Linked DNA regions of Homo sapiens: region 1 is linked to region 2. Evidence: promoter capture Hi-C in human tissues and cell types (Jung and others, 2019). All regions are on one chromosome and are shown on one strand. The core of a region is centred on a gene start or on the middle of the fragment in contact, and the rest is flanking DNA. Distances in the headings are between cores, read along the strand shown.

What was found. Contacts are between HindIII fragments. The study calls those that stand out against the background at their distance.
Region 1: a contact is called between a fragment that was not itself captured here and the fragment with the promoter of GAL3ST1 in region 2, in 2 of the 25 tissues and cell types used here (dorsolateral prefrontal cortex and spleen).

The regions. Positions count from the first base shown.
Region 1 is chr22:31,115,137-31,118,832 of GRCh38, forward strand. All of the region lies in intron 1 of LOC105372995 (a long non-coding RNA gene), which reads right to left. Among named protein-coding and RNA genes, the nearest start is that of INPP5J, 6.0 kb to the right of the region's middle. The HindIII fragment of the contact is 5,360 bases long and covers 1-3,696 here.
Region 2 is chr22:30,572,998-30,576,307 of GRCh38, forward strand. GAL3ST1 (galactose-3-O-sulfotransferase 1) reads right to left here and starts at 1,668. Exons shown (of 4, transcript NM_001318104.2): 1 at 1,469-1,668. RefSeq lists enhancers at 226-907, 908-1,588. The HindIII fragment of the contact is 15,540 bases long and covers 1-3,310 here.

The sequences.
Region 1 (3,696 bases), core at 232-2,731, 540 kb after region 2:
TGAATTCACCCTGGCTTTCTGAAGGGCAAAATCAAAACTCTAAAAACTTTTTTTGACCCAGTAATTCCATTTTTCAGAATTAGCCCCAAAGTAATCATCAGAGAGAGGATTGTTAGGTCAAGCTTGTTTATTAGAATACCATTTATCGTGGTGAAGAACTGGGGATATAACCTAAGCATGTCACAGCAGGGGATGAGTTAAATTAATGAGTGTACCTCCATAGGATGGAAAACCATGCAATTGTTAAAAATGATGCAGCAGGCTGGGCGTGGGTGGCTCACGCCTGTAATCCCGGCACTTTGGGAGGCCGAGGTGGGCGGATCACCTGAGGTCAGGAGTTTGAGAGCAGCCTGGCCAATATGGTGAAGCCCCATCTCTACTAAAAATATAAAAATTAGCTGGGCATGGTGATGGCTGCCTGTAATCTCAGCTACTTGGGAGGCTAAGGCAAGAGAATTGCCTGAACCCAGGAGGCAGAGGTTGCAGTGAGCTGAGATCGCACCACTGCACTCCAGCCTGGGCGAGTGAGACTCTATCTCAAAAAAAAAAAAAAAGATGCAGCATAGATGGAATGACATGGAGAATGTTCGTGGTTATGGTATTAAATAGCAAGAAAAAAGCAACAAAAACAGTAATCTGGTAATATCAATTGGGAGTTGTGATGCTGTGGGCTGCAAGTCATAGAAACCCCAATTTAAACTGGCTTAAACAATAAAGGGAGCTGGTTGTGGTGGCTTGTGTCTATAAACCCAGCTACTCAGGAGGCTGAGGCAGGAGGATAACTTGAGGCCAAGAGTTCCAAACTATCCTGGACAACATAGTGAGAACCCATCTCTAAAAAAAGATATTTAAAATCTAGCCAGGCATGGCAGTGCCTGTAGTCCCAGCTACCCCAGAGGCTGAGGTGGGAGGACTGCTTGAGCCCAGGAGTTCAAGACTACAGTGAGCTATGATCATGCCACTGCACTCTAACCTGGGAGACAGAGTGAGACCCCATCTCCTATAAAAAATAAAAAATAATACAGTGAGCCAAGATCGTACCACTGCACTCTAGCCTGGGCAATGTGAGTAAGACCCTGTGTCAAAAAATAATAAAAATAAAGGGGCTGGGCCCAGTGGCTCATGCCTGTAATCCCAGCACTTTGGGAGGCCGAGATAGGCAGATCACTTGAGGTCAGGAGATGGAGACCAGCCTGGCCATCATGGTGAAACCCCCTCTCTACTAAAAACACAAAAACTAGCTGGGCATGATGGTGCACACCTGTAATCCCAACTACTTAGGAGGCTGAGGAAGAGAATTGCTTGAGCCCGGGAGGTGGAAGTTTCAGTGAGCCAAGATTGCGCCACTGCACTCCAGCCTGGGTGCCAGAGCGACACTCAGTCTCTAAATAAATAAATAAATAAAGGGACTCTGTTGGCTCAAATAATTTTAAAAGTCCAGGACAGGCACAGTGGCTGACGCCTGTAATCCCAGCAATTTGGGAGGCTGAGGCGGGCAGATCACCTAAGGTCAGGAGTTTGAAACCAGCCTGGCCAACATGGCGAAACCCCGTCTCTACTAAAAATACAAAAATTAGCCAAACGCAGCGGTGGGCACCTGTAACTCCAGCTACTCGGGAGGCTGAGGCAGGAGAATCGCTTGAACCTGGGTGGCGGAGGTTGCAGTGAGCCAAGATCGTGCCACTGTACTCCAGCCTGGGCGACAGATTGAGACTCCATTTCAAAAAGAAGAAAAAAAAAGTCCAATGGCAGGTGGGGCTTCAGGTGAAGTTTGATCCAGTTAATGAAGTCACCAAAGCCTGGTGTCTCTCCATTCTGCTTTCCATAATGTCAGTTTATCAGTAGGCCAATTTTCTACATGGTGTAAAGATGGCTGCCAGCAGTAACTAGAGCCATTGGCCTCTTCATTTACATCTAATGGAAGGAAGATCATCTTTTTTGGCAGCCTCCTCAGGAGAGAAAATAAGCTTCCTTTCCCAAAAGCCCTGAGCAAAAATTTCCTTGTATCTTGCTAGTTCATTCGTGATCTAATCATGTGCCTGGGGAAATGGGAATTGCTTACTGGCTTAACCAACTGGGACCCATTCCTGAAGCTGAGGGTGGGGTCCACCATATTCCAGTTCCTGTTAAGAAGGAGATGGGCTGCAACCTTAACAGGATCCTAACCCTAACCCTAACCCTACTGTGTTGCTGGACATTGTGGCAGCAACACAGTAACCAACCAATTCTATAAAACATGTATAGGCCCAGTCTTGGTGGCTCACGCCTGTAATCCCAGCACTTGGGAGGCCAAGGCATGTGGATCACTTGAGTCCAGGAGTTCAAGACCAGCCTGGTCAACAAGGCAAAACCCTGTCTCTACTAAAAATACAAAATTAGCTGGGCATGGTGGTGCATGTCTGTAATCCCAGCTACTCGGGAGGCTGAGGCAGGAGAATTGCTTGGACCAGAGGTGGAGGTTTCAGTGAGCTGAGATCATGCCACTGCACTCCAGCCTGGACGACAGAGTGAGACTCCATCTCAAAAAATAGATATAGCTATATAAAATATATAACACGTATATGTAAATATACATGTATATAAATATATATGCATATTATATACAACATGTATATAAATATATATGCATATTATATACAACATGTATATATAAATATATATGCCTAGACCCCCGCCCCCACCAAAAAATATCTATAAGGAAACAAACCAATAAGTCAGAACGATTATTTCTTGGTGGATGAAATTATAGGTAAATGTTTTCCTTCTGTGTTTTGTGTAATGGGCATGGATTACCTAAACACAAACAGTAAACTTTATTTACGAAAATAATGGGACATACCCCACTATTTCCTTCTACTCCAACCCCTACCCCAGCAAGGGCCTCAGAGTAACTGAAGCCAGAGGCCCCACGGAGTCGTTCTTGCTGCTGACAGAGCCAAACCCCAGTACCCCATGGGCCCTGGTTGTTTGCTGGACAGATGCCACCAAACCACTCTCATTGCATTAGCCTGGATGCTGTGGCCCCTAAAGGCCACAGCTTGGGCTGCTGAGGGTTGACCAACCAGCCAGTGGAACCAGTGGTGGAGACTGTGACCATAACAGTACCAGGAAGGAACACTGTGGCATCAGCAGCATGAGAAGCCCAAGATCTCCCAAGACAGATCTCTGCCCATAATCCATGCCTCTTATGTGGCAGCATGTAATTTAGGCCAGCAGTCTTCCTCAAGTGGGGCCAAGGTTGGGGATTAGTCTGTGATGGGGTCAGGCTCAGACAGGGTCTAGGTCAGCCCTTAGTTGAGTAGTCTGTAGCCTAGGGCTAGATACAGGGCTCAGTCCATGATTGGGCTTAGTCTTTAGTCTGTGACCAGGAGCCAGGCTCAGTCTGTGACCAGGGTCATGTCTCTGTCAATGACTAAGTTCAGGGCTCAGTCTGTGACCAGATTCAGGGCACAGTCTTCCGTTTAGGGCTCAGTGTGTGACCAGAATTGCATGATCCAGGGTCAGAATTCAGTCTGTGGTCAGAGTTCAGTCAATGATTAGGCTCAGGACTCAGTCTTTGACCAAGATTAGGGCTCAGTCTTCTGCCAGAGTCAGGGTTAAAAGGTTAGTCTGACTCTTCTGCCAGAGTCAGTCTAAAAGGTTAGTCTGGGCTGGGGCTAGAATTCAGTCTGTGACTAAGGCTCAGTCTTAGAGAAG
Region 2 (3,310 bases), core at 418-2,917:
GGAAGGGGATGCATGGGGACCAGGCATTCTCTGTCCGCAAGGAGCTTCCTCCAGGAAGGGCTCTGCCTGAGCAAGCAGGGAATAAAGCAGGCTGAGGTGGCAGCTGGGAACAGGGCTTCGTTGTCTCGGCTCCCGGGGTAGCAGCCTGCTCACCCGCTGAAGTGTCAGGCGGAGCTGGGAGCCAGGGAGGCGAGGGGGGGTGTCCAGAGCTGAGGGTTTGGGGCAGCCCAGGCAGATCCAAGAAGGCAGGACCCCAAAGGAGCAGAGAGAGGTCATGGGTTGGGCTGGGGTCCTGAAATGGGGGCCAGGGCAAGACTCCTATGATTTGGAGTCAGCTCAGCTACCTCTGAGCCATGTGACCTTGGACAAGTCATTGAATTTCCCTGAGCCTCAGTATCCCCCTCTGGATAATGGGGATAGGTAGCAATGCCTCCTTCACAGGACAAGGAACAGTGCGTACACAGTGACTGCTCTGGTCCAGGACTGCCCTCCTGTGCCCCCTGTGTGGGCCTGGATGAGCCTCACCCTCTCTGGGCCTCAGGTCACCCCGTCAGTAAAGGAAGAGATTGGGTTTTCCCAACTGGAATGGACAGTCCTCTACACCTCTCTCCCCTCTGGAGGATTCTCATGCACCTGTCACCGCGGCAGCCCGGGGATCAGGTGTCAGGCATGCTGCCTTCTCTCCCTTTCCTTCCCCCTGGTGTGGGTTACAGCAGCCAGACATGCCCATCACCTCTCTGGCTCTGGGCAGCTGGGCGGGGCAGTTCCCACTGGGCAGGGCTCGGTCTGTAGTGTGCTCTGTGCTGGTACCAAAATGCTGGCCTGGCACCGAAGGGGCAGATCAAGCTGGACCCCCTTCCTGGGCACTGGGCTAGGAAACAGGAACTGTAGGATTTCCTATAGGACCCCTCCTGGATGCCAGGGTTTGTCCCACTCTCCCAAACCTCTCCTTGGTGGCTTTGCTTCCTCTGGGGTACAGGCCAGGGCCTTCCCCCAGCAGAGGGGATCCATCCCTTACTATGGTCTCCGGTTCCTGCTCTGATCCCCTTTCTAGGAAGGGCTGATGGAGACAGGGGAGATCTCTGCCCCTCCTCCCCTAGGGCTCTGGCCACTGTGTCCAAGATTAATCATTAACGCACTCCCAGCTCCAGCTCAGCCCCAGCAGCCTGCCTTCTGCCCCACCCATCCCACCTTCAGGGACTGGGAAGCCCTGGAAGGGGGGTTGGGGGACAGGGGAAAAAACCAAGGGCATGGGGGGCACCAACCTGTGCCCTCCCTGGCCCCTACCAGGCCACCCTCTGGCAGTGGGCAGGGGTACCCAGCGCTTAGAACAGCGGTACTGCACTCCTACTCCCCTCCTCCGGCGCGTGGTCCCAGTTTGGGGGTTAGCGTAATGTGGGCGGTATCCCCAGGGAGTAGACTGAGGCAGGGCTCAAGCTGGCAGTGGGTGCTGGAGCCCGGGACGTACCTTGTCCCCGTCCTCCTCCGCCTCAGCGTGGCTGGCTCGGCCCGGGCCGCGCCGCCCGGGCGCTCACTGGGCGGCGGGGCGCACCCGGCCGGGCCCCCCGCTCCACCAGGCCTGGTCCATGCCCCCGCCCCCGCCGCCGCTGCCGCGCCGCGCCCGCTCCCGCGCCGCGCCCGCTCCCGGCCAGGTGCCGCCGCCAGCCTGGCCCAGCCTCCGGCGCCGGGGCCAATGGACGCCCCGGACCCCAGACCCCTCCCCGCCCCGGGCCGGCCCCCTCCCCGCCCCATCCCGGCCCCTCTGCGCCCGCCCGAGACGCACAGAAGCCGCATTCAGCGCGCTGGGGCGCAACGCTGCGCCCCCGCCGCCGGCCCAACAAGGCCCGTTTGTCTCGGACGCGCCAACGGGGCCATTGTCCCGCCCCGGTCCTCTGGCTCAACGGAGCCCCCAGCCCAGAAGACTTGAGGATGCCCAGGCTTGGTGGTGGTGGGGAGGGGAGCCAGGGCTCTGGGAAAAAGGCGGCGGACGGACTATTGCTTAACTTTGGTTGGGGGGTCCTGGGGCCCTTAGGATCCAATGGATCATACGGCTTCTTGCTCTAGTCAGTGCCAACTGGGGACGACACATTTTTGGCACTCATGGGAGTGGAGGGAGCTCAAGCAAGAGACTGAGCTCCAACTGGTCCTGTCACCTGGAGGTCTCAGCTGTCACTCTCTAGGGTGCCAATGAGGGCTGAGCAAGGCCACCAGGAGGCAGGTGTCCCATCCAGGCCCTGTCTCATTTTCCAGGCCTGGCCTTTCCTTCTTCACCCCAGAGGAGCAAGACCATGGATGAGGACCAATGCCTGCCAGGGGCCAGGAATCCTCAGCGCCAGCTGTGGGCAGTAAGGAACCAGCTGGCCACCCAGTGGGGCCTGGGATGCGTCAGAGCCCCACTGCCCCCGCCATTACTGGGCGATTCTGGAATGGGGAAAATTCCACATCAGCATGGCTGCCAGGAATTTTTCCGTATCTGATGGGCCTGCGCTCTAGCCGTGTGGCCCTGGATGCACAGTTCCCCAGACAGGCCTGAGTTGTCTCCCGGGGCTGCAGGCTCTGGCTCCAGAGGTCCTGACCCTCTGTCCCAGCCTCTGGAGGCAACCTCACTCCCTCCCATCGCCGTGTGCATGACAGAGTGGGAATGGCACACAGCCCTCTCCTTCCACCCACAGCCAGTCCCAGCTGAGAGGGGGAGCCCTAGGTTTTCTGCTCCCCAGGCCAGAGCCTGCCCAAGCTCTTGCCTTCCCCCTGCACAGGTTGGACCTACATCCACTGCCACAAAAACATTCTCTGCCCACACAGCCAGCAAACAGTGAGAGGCAGAGGGCAAGGCCCTCAGGTGCCTAGATTCAGGGAAAGTAGAGCCATTCCAAACCCACACTTCCTCAGCGTGGCCCCAACCCTCGACAGCACTCACCCCGGGAAGTGAGTCCTGGGAGGGGCTGAGTGAGCACTGGGAGACCCAGGTTGTGGTCCTGGCTCCATCATGATGCACTGGCGGTTCCAGGCAAAGGCATATCCCAATGGGCGTCAGCAGGGACACTGCCAAGGTCAGCGGGGAAGCTGTCAGGCAGGCCTCACAGACCGTAAGTGCAGCTGCTGCGGAATCCTACGCTGGGAGGTACTCAGCGGTTCTGCCAACGCGCCAAGGCAAGCTGAGGGCAGGACCTCACCGCAGACCCACAGATCCTTCCGGTTCTGGCTTTTACCTTCTGGGCCGAGTCCAGCAGGAAGTGATATAAATCAGTTGGTGTTTACCAAGTACTTACCACACACCTGATATTACCAAGTCCATAAGGTCTGAGACTAT